5 separate regions of the Homo sapiens genome follow, and all the other regions are linked to region 1. Evidence: promoter capture Hi-C in 16 types of primary human blood cells and fetal thymus (Javierre and others, 2016). All regions are on one chromosome and are shown on one strand. Each heading gives the region's core, a stretch centred on a gene start or on the middle of the fragment in contact. The rest is flanking DNA. Distances are from core to core; before and after follow the strand shown. Region 1 holds the start of RASD2 (RASD family member 2). Region 2 overlaps RBFOX2 (RNA binding fox-1 homolog 2). Region 3 overlaps RBFOX2 (RNA binding fox-1 homolog 2). Region 4 overlaps RBFOX2 (RNA binding fox-1 homolog 2). Region 5 has its middle 7.8 kb from the start of RBFOX2.

What was found. The method cuts DNA at HindIII sites, captures the fragments that hold promoters and counts their contacts. A CHiCAGO score of 5 or more calls a contact.
Region 2: a contact is called between a fragment that was not itself captured here and the fragment with the promoter of RASD2 in region 1, in 1 of 17 cell types (M1 macrophages). The highest score is 5.4, in M1 macrophages.
Region 3: a fragment that was not itself captured here is called in contact with the fragment with the promoter of RASD2 in region 1 in 1 of 17 cell types (M1 macrophages); the score reaches 5.4 in M1 macrophages.
Region 4: a contact is called between a fragment that was not itself captured here and the fragment with the promoter of RASD2 in region 1, in 2 of 17 cell types (M1 macrophages and M2 macrophages). The highest score is 5.2, in M1 macrophages.
Region 5: a contact is called between a fragment that was not itself captured here and the fragment with the promoter of RASD2 in region 1, in 1 of 17 cell types (M1 macrophages). The highest score is 5.0, in M1 macrophages.

Annotation. Positions count from the first base shown.
Region 1 is chr22:35,539,448-35,542,147 of GRCh38, forward strand. It overlaps RASD2 (RASD family member 2), which reads left to right and starts at 1,384. Exons shown (of 3, transcript NM_014310.4): 1 at 1,384-2,053. RefSeq lists enhancers at 46-608, 609-1,171, 1,172-1,734 and a silencer at 856-1,075. The HindIII fragment of the contact is 7,504 bases long and covers 1-2,700 here.
Region 2 is chr22:36,013,667-36,016,471 of GRCh38, forward strand. The region is part of intron 1 of RBFOX2 (RNA binding fox-1 homolog 2); the gene reads right to left. Among named protein-coding and RNA genes, the nearest start is that of RBFOX2, 14 kb to the right of the region's middle. The HindIII fragment of the contact is 745 bases long and covers 995-1,739 here.
Region 3 is chr22:35,975,547-35,978,323 of GRCh38, forward strand. All of the region lies in intron 1 of RBFOX2 (RNA binding fox-1 homolog 2), which reads right to left. Among named protein-coding and RNA genes, the nearest start is that of RBFOX2, 52 kb to the right of the region's middle. The HindIII fragment of the contact is 3,382 bases long and covers 1-2,777 here.
Region 4 is chr22:35,923,846-35,926,545 of GRCh38, forward strand. The region is part of intron 2 of RBFOX2 (RNA binding fox-1 homolog 2); the gene reads right to left. Among named protein-coding and RNA genes, the nearest start is that of RBFOX2, 100 kb to the right of the region's middle. The HindIII fragment of the contact is 1,864 bases long and covers 483-2,346 here.
Region 5 is chr22:36,035,254-36,038,001 of GRCh38, forward strand. No RefSeq gene overlaps it. Among named protein-coding and RNA genes, the nearest start is that of RBFOX2, 7.8 kb to the left of the region's middle. RefSeq lists an enhancer at 1-717. The HindIII fragment of the contact is 1,028 bases long and covers 883-1,910 here.

The sequences.
Region 1 (2,700 bases), core at 134-2,633:
ACAGACACAGCATCCCATCCCTTTGCTGTATCACACAACGAGAACATTCTCTTTTAAGCCTCCTGATATGTGAAGGAGAAAGTCTCTGTTAGGTGCTAATGGGTATTTAACACCTCTCCAAACCTTGCCAATCTCCCTTTTTCACTGAGGGCACACATCTCAAGCCTTGGCAGGCCACGGTTTCCAGCTGGAATTTAATAACCTTGCTTTGTTTTCACTGTGCTTATTTTAACTCTTACTTTCTATTTATGGCAAGTGATACTGATTTCCCATTTAAGGCAGTGATATAATGATTCTCTAAAAAAACGTGTTTAAGGGGTGGGGAAAGTGGATCTGATATTTTAAAAAATATATTAAGTAATAAGTGGTGTGGAGATATGGCCCAGTGAGAAGGCCCGATGTCTGGCCTAGGTCAAGCCCCTCATTTAAAGGTGGGGAGGGAGAATGCAGGCAGGAGACGCAATGCTCAAGGCACCTGGTGTGTCCCCGTCGGCCGTGGTCTCTGAGACTCGCATGCCTCGAAGACCTCTGGCTACTAAGCCTAGGTGACTCCCCGCCCCTCTGGGCGACACGTGCATGGCCCATGTGCCAGTCCGCAGGGTCCCGTGGGCACCGTGAGCTCGGGAGGGAGGCGGCGGCTGGGACAGGCAGGTTGGACACCTGGGAGGGCACCCGGGGACTTCCGCGAAGGAGGAGGGCGCTGGAACCGTGGCGCGCTCGACCTGGCCGGGCGCAAGCCGCTGGAGACCCCGGCCGAGTGGGCAGGCGGCCGGACCCCATGCGGGTCACCTGCGGCCAGGCCGGGCGTGCGTGTGAGCGCGTGCGCAGACGTCAGCCTCCGAGGCCCGGGCCGCCTTCTGGGCAAGGTGCGCGCGCCCAGCGGCCCCGGCCCCACGCGCCCGGACACGCGGAACCGCAGACCGCGGCGCCCCGGAGGCCGCGAAAGGGATGGGCGGGGCCGGGCCGCGGGACCCGCCTCCCATTGGCCGGGCGCCGGGGCGAGGCGGGGCGCCGGGGTGGGGCGGGGCGAGCGGGCTCTGGGGGGCAGACGCTGGCGCTGGGCGGCGGGAGGCGCGGCTCGCGGGGGGCCGAAGGAGCAGGTGGGCGACGCTCGCAGGGGCGCGGGAGGGTGCCGCTGGGACCGTCATCAGGAGCCTGGGGTTCTGCCACCTTTCGGAGGGATCAGCGACCTCTTCGCCCTGCGGGTGACAGTGGGGCATCTGCCTGCGAGAGGGGGAAGGAGGGAGAACCCAGGGCCACACACAAAGTTCTCCTCATCTGGGGACAGGAGGAGGTGAAGGAGGAGGAGCCGGGTTGATGCTAACTTGGAGCTGCGAAACCTTGGGGCGGCGTTCAAGGCCCCCTCCCACACGCGCGCAGAGCAGAGCGCCCTGCTCCTCCTTCAGCTGCTGGCGTCGCCGCGCGGGGAGAAAGAAGCCGTCCCTCCGGCGCTGGGAGAGCTGCAGAGCCGCGGGCAGAGAAGGAGGCCGCGGCCGAGCCCGGCAGCCCGATACCCCCCATCCGAGCGACCCCCTTTGGGGCAGGCGGAGAAGGTGGCATAGGCGACCAGGAGGGTTCGCCCACCTGGGACACGCACCCACAGTCACCTCCAAAGGACCCCCCCTCCCCAAGTCTCTAGGAGCTGCTCCTTCATCACTGGAGTCGCCCCTACCTCTCTGCCCCCAGCCCGAGAGCCCCAGGCGGGGACCCCCGGATCGGACGTCCCCAAGCCTCCGGGCACCTGGCTCAGCAGGAGGCCCCCGGCTCGGGGCAGGGCAGGGCCGGCGGCGGCGAGCCGGAGCCCGCCCCCTGCCCGGGCCCCGCCGAGCCCTCGGAGCCCACCCATGGGGCACCTGCCCCTTGCGCCTCCTTGCCCGGCCGCGCCCAGCCCGGCGTCCCGAGCAGCGCAGGGGAGGATCCCCGCGCAGTGACCCGGGAGCCACCACAGACTCTGGGAGGCTCGGCGGCTGGAGCAGCAGGCAGCTCCCCGCAGCTCCCGGCGCTTCCAGGCAGCTCTCTGAGCCGTGCCAGAGGCCCGGCCCGCCATTCCCAGGTAGGAGACGCCCCAACAGAGCTGGGCATCTGGGGGAAGTGGAGCAGCCGGGAAGAAAGGGTAGAGGCTTGGAGGAGGAAAGCTCAGTGATTCCTTAGATGACCAGAGAAAGTGAAATTGATTGAGCACCTACTATGTGCCGGGATCGTCTGGCAACTTTGCATACCTAGAGAGAATTAAATTCGTTGAGCACCTACTGTATGTGTCAAACTGAGTGCTATACCCTTGACTTAATCCCAGGAAAGAAAGATTTATTGAGCTTCTACTATGTGCTAGTTTTGGTGCCACAGGCTTTGCATTTAAAGAGCTAGAGTAATAGCCCATTTAAATAGGAGGAAACGGGGGCTCAGGGAAGACGAGTCAACTACCACAAACACTCCTGTCCCTCTTCTGGAGCTGGCTGCAGCCTGCATTACCTGGAGGTGGGGAAGGAAGATTAAGAAGCTCCTTCGTTATCCAGAGTTCTTGAGCTTTTTCTGGGTTGGTGCAGAGTGAGTTTCCTGGATGATTCCCTTCCCAGGAGGGGTTTCCTGTAACTTAGCTGTCTTGGAGGGCCCGGAAGGCAGCTCTGGAGGCCTCTCTGTGCCCTCCCCTCCCCTTGTCCCCAGCACCAGGAGGATGACAGGGGATGTTGTCCAAGACCTCAT
Region 2 (2,805 bases), core at 117-2,616, 470 kb after region 1:
AGAGACCACTAATGAAAACTTTAATAGACCTTTTTACATTTGAAAAAGTAGCCTCTGATATAGGAAATGGAGAAAAGCAAGGAGCAAAAAATACAGAGAGTATGCTAATATTTGTGTCAAAAAGAAAGGAGGGGGGATAACAGACAAATTAGTAACAGTGGTTACTTGTTTGGTAAAGGGGATAGGGACACATAGGAAGCAGAAATGAAAAGGAGACATTTCATTACATATGTATTTATGAATTTAGAGTTAGGAATTAACTTACCGGTAGGGAATCTGGGCGTAAATCCTGGTTTGGAAAACGCTACACAATAGTTCAGCATCACAACGTCTGCTTATGAAAAGTGTAGTGTGATAGGTTTTTTTTTTAATGTGTTTAATTCTAATGTCCAAAGTTATTTAACTTTTTTTGGTGGGGGGCTGGGGCATGGGCAGGATGATACCTATTATCATTTCTTTTTTTTTTTTTTATTGAGACAGAGTCTCACTCTGTCGCCCAGGCTGGAGTGCAGTGGCGCAATCGCGGCTCACTGCAAGCTCCGCCTCCTGGGTTCACGCCATTCTCCTGCCTCAGCCTCTCCGAGTAGCTGGGACTACAGGCACCCGCCACCACGCCCAGCTAATTTTTTGTATTTTTAGTAGAGACGGGGTTTCACCGTGGTCTCGATCTCCTGACCTCGTGATCCGCCCGCCTCAGCCTCCCAAAGTGCTGGGATTACAAGCGTGAGCCACCGCGCCCGGCCACCTGTTATCATTTCTTAAAGAGCAATCAATACAATACAGCTTGGGATACTAGAATTAAATAATTTCCTAACTTAAAACAGAATGCTGAATGAGTCAAAATTTTTAGGTTTCTTTAAGCTCGGGGATACCAAAGTATTTACTACTTGCTTCTAACACTGCAAAAAATAACCCATAGTAAAGCTAAAATCCAAAAGGGGTAAATGATACCTACACCAAACTCAAGAAAGTCAAATAAGGGATTCTTAAAATAAGCTTCTCATTATTGAAAAAAAGCAAAGCCTACAGAGTAACACTTATTTCACACCACTCCTAGAGAAAGAAACGCAGAGTAAGCATAAAAGAAAATTGCGCATGCACACACAGATACAGGTTATCTATTAATCATAGCATTTTTATACAGCTGACAAAAATCACTAGAAGTCCCTGATAAGCGCCTCTCTGAAGGGCTACTACATGCACTTAACACACTTTAATGCTTACGTATGAAGGTAGGAAATGCCAAAGTTAACCAACTGATCTCCAACACTGTAAAACACAGCCAGCTCAGAGCTAAAATGCTGCTGCAAAAAGATCTATTCAGTATCATGACAAGCAGCTAAAGACTTTTAACAAAGCAGAGGGACAGAAGATGTCTATAATGAGTAATGAACAGCACCTGGGAATGGAGAGGCGCTAGCTAACAGAAAAATTAGTTTCTAAACCCAAATACAGACCTTTTGAGTATGACCAGCATTACCTCAAAGTCTTGGATGATATCAAAATTTGCCAATTTATTATCAGCTTAATAAGAGTCATGTATGAAACTATGACTTCTAGTTCAAATATAACACAAAACATAGTAAAATCTTATGTAAGTATGTAACTAATGCAGACATATATGAAACGGACTGCTTAAGCAATAGCTGAATAGCAGTACTCTGCATTCTTTTAAACAAGGTGTGCATAGCATAAGACCAGGGTCAGACTTTCAGGACAAGTACTACCAACTCCCTGTAAGCTTTGCCAAAGGGGAAACTTCCTGAAGTTCCAACAAAGTCTTCAAACCCACTGTGCCAGCCACTAACAGTAACCATGTTCCTGGAAGCTTGTATATGAGAAGCAAACCAATGAGTTAAGCTTTGTGGATGTTGGGAGCCACCACAAAACATCTTTCAATTTTGCCAGTTTTCACTTTGAAATCACACAATCCTATCTTATCCCCTAGAAACTAAGAAACAGCAGGTGAAAGCTGTCAAAGCCACATATTCAGACTAATTAGGGGACAAGCCAGTCTGATTAGGGGATAGCGACCTCATTTGCAGATGCTTTTGCAGATGAAGGAGAAGCTGAATATGGAGAAATTTAATCGGGGCAGGGGGCTAAAAAAAGATCTACAATTCCTGCCTTTTACCCGAAATTATTACTTACCCTCCCAAGAATTTTTGTGGACCACTGAACTGAAGAAGGAAAAGAAAGAAAAAGGGAGAAAACAAACTTTAGGCTGTAAGTGTGACTGTATAAAAATCCCTGAGAGGATGAATTATGAAACTAAACTCCATGCAACAGGGCTAACTATGTAGCTGCTTTTCCACTTGCCTAATGGCCCAAGACAAATAGAGCAGGGCCATCCAGGAGTCCCAACAACTTCCAGGAAAATGGAACCAACGTCCTCCTGTCTCAGAACAAGCCACATACCCCCTGAAAGTAACCCCTAAGTGAAATCCATATAGATCTGCTTTGAAAATCACTCTGGCTGGCAACAATTAAGGCCCACTCCTTCAAACAATTCCAATTTGTATGGGAAAAAGCTTCTTAAAAGAAAAAAAAAAGCAATTGAAAGAAATTTCTATGAGCCTCTGCCCAAAAGTATTCCAACTCAAGCAACTGCTGCAGGCCACATTCAGACACCCCCAGTCTCCCCAGGCCCTGTCTGTAGTTCCTCTAGTTTTACTCACATAGCTTCTGCCTCCACCCCAATCCCCAGAGCTAGGAGAGTCCCACGGCCACACCACCCATCCCTCATGATAAATCATGCTTTGCTTGTGGTATTTCCAGTTAGAATCTGACAAAAATCAATGCAGC
Region 3 (2,777 bases), core at 202-2,701, 440 kb after region 1:
CTAGGTATTTCCTTTTATCATTCTCTTTCAATTCAAAGGCAATTCTAATCCCAGTAAATCCTAACCTTGGGAGTCAGTATTTTCAAAGCTAATTGTAACAAGCAAAATTCAGATCTATGATCTTTTATTGTCTTTAGTATCTTTTCCCTTTTGATGTCAGGAACAGAAAAAAAAAAAATCAAATTTTCATGTTGTGCCAAAAATGAGTTCCCACTTGATCACTAGTGTTTTCTGTTTGACCCAACATATATTCCAATTTGATTTCTGGTCAAACTATTACCAGCTCAATCACTAATTCTGCTGTCATTCCAGACTTGTTACTGTTATTTTACTTAATACTGAGGAGATACAAGAAGAATATTTATAAATTATGTGAAGGATATAAAGAATAACAAAAACATATGCCATTAGAATTCTAGTTTTTCCTCCACCTCCTGCTCCCACCCCCAAATGTATTTTCCTACATGGGCTGAGCCCCTCCTTCACTACTGTCCTTAAAGATCTGAATTTAAGTCCTAACTCTGCCACTTCATGACGCATATAATCTTCAATAAATCGCATCCCCTCTCTTAAGGCTATCTCCTACCTATCAAATGAAAAGGCTGAACAACATGGTTACTAACGTTGTTTTCAGCTCCCTGTTTGATTTCAGCTAGGTTCAACACTTTTCATGTTAAATCCCCCTGACTCCTTATCTTTCTATTTTACACAATTCTAGTAGCCATTATCCCACCCCTGAATTTGCTATACCAAATCCTCCAACCAAAAACTCTGACCACCACCACCACCACCCCCCCCTCTTAATTCTTCCCTCAGTCCTTCCTTCCTGTTCTCAACAAGTACCTCCAGTCACTGAGGAGAGATAATTACACTTGATCCTCCAAGATCTCCACCTCCCTCAACATCTAGATCCATCCTTTCACAAATATTTCCCTTGTGTATTCACAGCACAAGGGCTAAAAAGGAAAGCCCCCAAGAATTCAATCCAACATTTTTATATATGAAACAAGCCACATTTATAATATAAAAGTAATAACAGAATGAATGAAAATATTTACAAATGTGTATCGGAAAAAGGATTTGCTACATATATAAAGAATTTCAAAATGAACTCAGTAAGAAAACGAACCACCCGGCCAGGAACAGTGGCTCACATCTATAATCCCAGCACTTTGGGAGGCCAAGGCGGGTGGAACACCTGAGGTCAGGAGTTCAAGGCCAGCCTGGCCAACATGGCGAAACCTCGCCTCTACTAAAAATACAAAAAATTAGCTGGCCACAGTGGCGTGTGCCTGTAATCCCAGCTACTTGGGAGGCTGAGGCAGGAGAATCTCTTGAACCCAGGAGGCGGAGGTTGCAGGGAGCCAAGATCGCGTCACTGCACTCCAGCCTGGGCGACAGACCGAGACTCCGTCTCAAAAAAAAAAAAAAAAGAAAAAGAAAAGCAAATGAACCACTCATTTTAAAAAAATGTGCAAAACATTTAAACAGACCCATCATCAAAGAGATATGACTGACAAATATGCAAATGAAAGATGCTAAACATCATTAATATTTAGGAAAATACAAATTGAAGCCACGAAGAGATATCCATTATATACCTATCAGAAGGACTCTCATTTTTTAAAAAAACAACGGACAATACCAAATAGTGGAAAGAATGTAGATATATTCATTGCTGACAGGAATCCAAAGTGGTACAGCCACTTTGGGAAACAGTTTGGCAGTTTCTCATACACTTAAACACTTCATATACACTTATATGACCCTGCAGCATTCCCAACCTTAGGTATTTACCCAAGAGAAATGAAGCTACTCAACAGCAAAAAAGGAATGCATTACTAATACCTAAAACAGTACAGACGAATCTCAAAAGAATTACACTAAGTGAAAGAAGCCATACTCAAAAAGCTACATAATACATGATTCCATTTATATAACATTTTAGAAATGGCAAAATCATAGGAACAGAAATCTGATCAGTGATGCCAGTGGCTGCGGATGCGAAGAGAGAACTAACTGTGAAAGAGCCTGAAGAAACTTTCTACGGTAATGGACGCATTTTATATCTTGATTGTGGTAGTGGTTACATGTCTATATTACATTTGTCAAAATTCATAGAAATGTAGCCTTAAAAGAATGAATTTTACTGCATGTAAATTATACCTGAATGAACTATATATATATATATATATATATATATATATATATATATACATGCACACACACACATATACATATGTGTATACGTATAAAATCCCCCTCAAAAAAAAAAAAAGCCCTGTCCCCCTTCCGTCACAGAGGAGTTAGCACAGCAGCCAAGGACACAGGTAGGTGAGCAGCTGAGGAATCAAGGATGCACAGGACAGCAGGCCCAGAGGCCAAAGATAAGAGTGGTTGGGGGTCAGGGGGCACTGGAAGACTACAGGTAAAGCTGGGAAACTCTAGGGAGATTAGGAAGCCACAAGGAAGAATGGGCCAAAGGAGCCCATTGACTGAGGATTCCAGAACATGAGGAGTAGGGTACAGAGGTGGTGGAGTCAGCCATCGCGGTTGGAAAACTGGCTACACTGAGCAAATAAGTAAACATATTGGGGATAAGGGGAGCCAAGTTTTTCCCTACTGGAGAATATATTTACAAATATGGAAAGAGGTTGGCTGCATTTAATGGAGTTATCAGTGTGAATTCATGATTTTATAATATAAAATGCATTGTTTTATAATTTAAAATATGTAACACACACACAAACATCATGCATGTATATATACGTATATAG
Region 4 (2,700 bases), core at 165-2,664, 380 kb after region 1:
AACTATCACCCCTTAGTAAATAGGGAAGCAAGTGGGAAGCAAGTGGGGAACATAATGTTTGCTGCTGAGCAAAGAAAAATTAAGCATGCAAGTAAAATGCAAAAAAAAAAAAATTCAAATAAAAGTAAATAAATGCCCAGTGCAAATATCAACCCTGGAATTTAACACATTTATTTTAAAACCCAGATTCACTCATTAACAACTACATAGCCTTGGACAATGACTTAATCCCTTTGAGCCTTGGTTTCCTCACCTGCAAATGGGATTTAAAAACTACTTGCTTTATACAGTGCCTGCACATAGTCAGTATTCCACCTGTTAGCCCTCTTTTCATTAGGACACCCCCTGTCCCATGCCGAGACGTGTGTTACTCTGAAATTAAGATAATGTATGGGTTCCCTGTACCAATAATAGAATACCAGAATTAAAGAGCTAAAAGTATCTTTATCTTAAACGATCCTGTGATCCACACGACACCACAAAGCTTGTGAGAGCACAGGCTAAAGACACACTAAGGGAACAAAGATCCTAATGTAGTAATAGGAGATACATGGGAAAAGTTCTACTAATTCAATAAGTATATTTATTGAGTGTCTTAAGAGCCTTCTATGGCTCCATAAAATGACAGATTTACATTTAATATCCACTTGACCAAACCCATTAAACTTGTAAGAGGCACTCTCTTGCTGAACATCAGATATCTAGCTTCTTAAGTATTAATTTTTCATATCGCTCTGGCAAGGCAAAGGCAATAAAAACCTAGTGAAAGTCTGACCACAGTTTTGCTTTTTCCCCCACTTTGTCCATAAGAGAAAATCCAAATGGAGTAGTCTCTGTATTTCAACAAGCTGAAGTTGAGTTTATTTAATTTATCCCGTTACCACACTTTACCAAATTCATATTGGGCACATACTTTGTGCAAAGTATTCAAGAAAACTAAGAAGCATGAGAGAACTCTTGTTCTTACAGAATTCTGTGTGTTGGTCAAACCTTTTCACCATAATGCAATAGGCAGTGATAAAGTACTATTACAAAGTAGGAGGCTGGGCTGGGCATGGTGGCTCACGCCTGTAATCCCAGCACTCTGGGAAGCCGAGGTGGGCGGATCACTTGAGGTCAGGAGTTCAAGACCAACTCGAACTGGCCAACATGGTGAAACCCCATCTCTACTAAAATAAATATATATATATATAAAAGTTAGCCAGACGTGGTGGCGCATACTTGTAATCTCAGCTACTCGGGAGGCTGAGACAGGAGAATCACTTGAACTCAGGAGGCAGAGGTTGCAGTGAGCCGAGATCCAGCCGCTACAATCCAGCCTGGGCAACAGAGCAAGACTTTATCTCAAAAAATAAAAATAAAAAATAAAAAAATTTAAAAAAAAAGTAGAAGGCCGGGTGCAGTGGCTCACACCTGTAATCCCAACACTTTGGGAGCCTGAGGCAAGAGGATTGCTTGAGCTCAGGAATTCAAAACCAGCCTGGGCAACATAGCAAGACGCTGTCTTTACTAAAAATAAAACATTAAAAAATTAGCTAGGCGTGGTAGCACATGCATGCCTGTAGTTCCAGCTACTTGGGAGGCTGAGGTGGGAGGATCACTTACTTGAGCCCAGGAGTTCGAGGCTCCGCCACTGCACTCCAGCCTGAGGGACAGAGAGAGATCCTGTCTCCAAAAAAAACACAAAAAGCAAAGTAGAAAGCATGTGCCCTGGGACACTGAGTCAGCTCGCAAATAAATGCACTAGCCAAAACCTCAAGGAGAAGGTAGCATTTGAAGTGAGATTTAAAGGACGACCTGTATTTAAACATGGGACATGGGAAATAGTGTAAGTAAAGGAATTAGAATTCAAACCCACATTTAATTCCAAAGCTACGCTACCCCACCCCACAGTGTGGCTTGAACAGAGTACCTTACACAAAACAGAAGGAAAAAGACTGAGGCCATATCACAGAAGGCTTAGGATATCACACTAAAGAATATTCAGCAGATAAAAGCTAAGCAGAGTAATGAGACTCCAGTGAGATCAGAGCTGTTTAAATGCATGATTACATAGTACTTGCTGAGAGTATTTTCTGGTGGTACCAAAGTTTCTAACACAAGATCTTAAGTTACCTGTTGTATTCCCCTGTCTCTCTAATCAACCCTAGATGAGATCAGTATAATAGTATGCAGCTAATGCTATTAAGAAAATTAAAATATTTAATCTGTAACTGAAACCCGTAACTATATTGTCCACCAACTATGAGGCCTTTTGTCTTACCTTATACTTAATTAGTTGGTTTCATTCTAAATCATCTGCCAGTGACTGTCTGTTGAAGAACAAAGCACTGAATAAATATGTCAAGCTTCTTAAATGTAACTCACAAAATGGTAGCCAGAATTGATTATAAAAGACCATCGATTGCTTGGTAGTACTAACCGCTACAGCAAGAATATCCCTACTAACTACTTAGCTGCCCTAACCAAGTCTAGTCAGATGAATTTCTCGATTTTGAAAATTGCTAATGGAAATTCTATAATTTTCCTTTGTAAATGGCCCTATCTTTAGTCAGATAATTCTTTTTGATGGTCACATTAAACCTCTCATTACAATACAAATCAATTGCCTATATACAAAATAACAGGTCAATCTATTGAAAAGTCAATCAGTGAAATTATGATCCATCCATTAACAAAATATTTAAGCAACTGGGTCAT
Region 5 (2,748 bases), core at 147-2,646, 500 kb after region 1:
GTAAAACACTTAGCATGACACCTGGTTCACAAACACACTCAATAAATGTTAATTTAGACCCTTTTACTACGCTATTGCATCTACTATCTTTATTAATATGATTATTATATATGCCAAAAGCAATAGGGGTATTACAGAAAGATGTAACTCCGTCTGCCTGGGGGAGAGAGAACAAGTTTCACCCAGAGTGTTACATTTGACCTGGCTCTTTCAAAATGAGGAGGAATTTCCCAGGGAATGGTTTCTGATAAAAGGTAGTAAATTCTTGTGTGCCCTTTCCATGGGCTTAGAAGAGTTTGGCACTGCCCACTGGGTTGCTACCAGGAGAAAACTCAGCACAGGGCTTGGAGTCAAAGGACCAGGACTGGAGTCAGCTGCGGTCTTCAATAGAACAAAGACTGGGAGAGTTAAGTGGGCTGTCCATCTGTGAAAAGCGAGCCAGAGTACCTAGCCACAGGGCTATTGCGAGGTCTTTAGGAGATAAGAGATCTTGGGAAAGATCTATTCAAATGCCAGTTGCAGCTAACCCAGTAGTCTGGTTACCTACAAGCTGGTGGTGTAAAATCTCTTTGCGTTCTTTGAGAACATGATCACTTTCCTAATTCCTGTTTTTTGTTTCTGTGTTCCTAGCACCTAGCACTGAGCTTGACATAAAACTTGGCTATTCCAAGACTCCTGAAGATATTAAAAAACACAACTGCAGACCTAAGATTTTCCCTAGAAAAACAGATAAAGACCCGGAGCAGATAATCTTAAAATACTGTCTTAACCAGGCAGTCCTCTGAATAAAGACAGGGTCTAAGTCCTTCCCCAAAATTGATCACCTCTCTAATCAGAGCGAAGAGAGGAGATATAAATAGAAGAGACCATTTTCTACTCCAAAGCTTTCTTTTCAAAAAAAAAAAAAAAAATTCAGAGAATACCCTTGATAATTCATGGGCCAGAGGAAGTGGAAGCAGCTCCTGCCATGTGCCTGGCTGATCTGGGAGAAGATACAGAGTCTAATGAGAAACTGAATTCAGCAAAAAAGGAACGAGTGATGTTTAAGCCTCATTAGGGCTATAGAACCAGCGTTCTGACAAAAAAATACTCGCTATTGACTTTGACCTCACTTCCCTACCTCCCTCTGTTCGTGGGATTATTGAACCAGGGTTTTTCCTATAGGCCAGAACCTTGCCAGCCCTTTTGCCCTTCACATAATGTGTTTGTCTGGTTTCTATTTCTGTAGTTTGATGAAGGATGATAGCAGGGTATTGAATTGTTGTTTTTCATTTAGTGCAGTCGCCGCCCTCACCCTGCCCACCACCCCCCACCCTGCTCTCAAGTCATTTTCATTGTCTGTTTTTTGCCTTGAGGTTTTTATTGCTTCTTCAGAGTGGAAGAAGGCTTTGTTTTATTTTGTTTTCCAGGCGCTGGTATACATAACCTCATGGATCCATCCTTCCTGCAAAAATTATGGTGTTTCTAAATCGGCAACAATTTCCTTTCACTGGGGAAAGGCAGGGAAGGGTCAGATATTTGCTGAGCCCATAACAACTACCAGGTGCAAAACTAAGTGGGGTTTTTTTGGTTTTGTTTTTTGGATTTTTTTTTTTCGTTTAATCCTCACAACCGACCAGAGAAGCAGGTAGTATTACATCTTATTTTACCGATGAGAAAACTGAGACCCAGAGAGGTGAAACGACCAGCTCAAGGTTACACAAGATGGTTAGTGACAAAGAAACTCTTGTCCCCCCACTCCATGTCCACTGCCTTCCAGTGCTTCACCCTGTGCCTTTCAGAACTTTTTAGGGTGTTTTACTTTGGGCAGATACAAATCTCATAGGGAAGAGGGGACAAAAAAGTCTAACATTTTTTTCTCTGAACCTGAAGTTAATAACTTCTTCATCCTGCTTTCCACTGGGAGCATAAGCTTCTGAATTTTTGTTTTGTTGAGGCATGGGGTCTTCATTGTCTTCCTTGTCCCTGCTGGCACCTGCTCAGGTATCTTCCTCTGGGTCCCTGTCCTGCTGTCAGTATCGATCCGCACTGGGCTCCACCCAGCTGACCTATCTGATCCTTGTTGTTGAGGCACTGAGATTGCCTCTGTCAAGGACATGGGGAAACCTTGGGTTTTCCCACTGTTCTGGGGGCCTTGGGACGCTCCAAGAGGCTGTCTCCAGCCCCTGCAATGTAGACACAGAGGAGGCATCCTTACTCCTTGGACATCGCGCTGGGAGGGGAAACACTGCAAAAGCCACCGCCTCCAGGGCCTGTAAAGAGAAGCCAGGCTCAGGTCTTTGCTCCTTCCAGATGCCACAGTGACCCCTGGGCTCCGTTTCTCCCTCTTTCCTCCCTGAGGCTCCATCTGTAAAGAGGCAAGCGAGGAGGATCCTCCAGAGACCCATACAAGACTCTGGTTCGCCTCCCCTCTCTCCTCAGCCCCTGCTGCCTTTGCCTCTCCCAGGTGGGGCTGCCAAACCTATCCTGGCTGATTCTGCTTCGTTTGAACCTCTGGATTTTGTAGGACATAGACTTCATGTCCAGAATCATGTAGGTTTCAAACTTTTGGAGTACAAAAGATGAGGCTTTTGAAACACAGAGACTTTTCTCTCCAGCCACACATTTCAAAACATATTTTGAAATTCAAAAGCTGAGTTCAGACTCTTCTTCTCTTTGCATTTCCACTATAATAGTTTTATTCCTGAGGGCGAGAACAGCAGAAGATACCTGGGAGAGTGAGGGAGGAAGAACATATGTTAATATTTT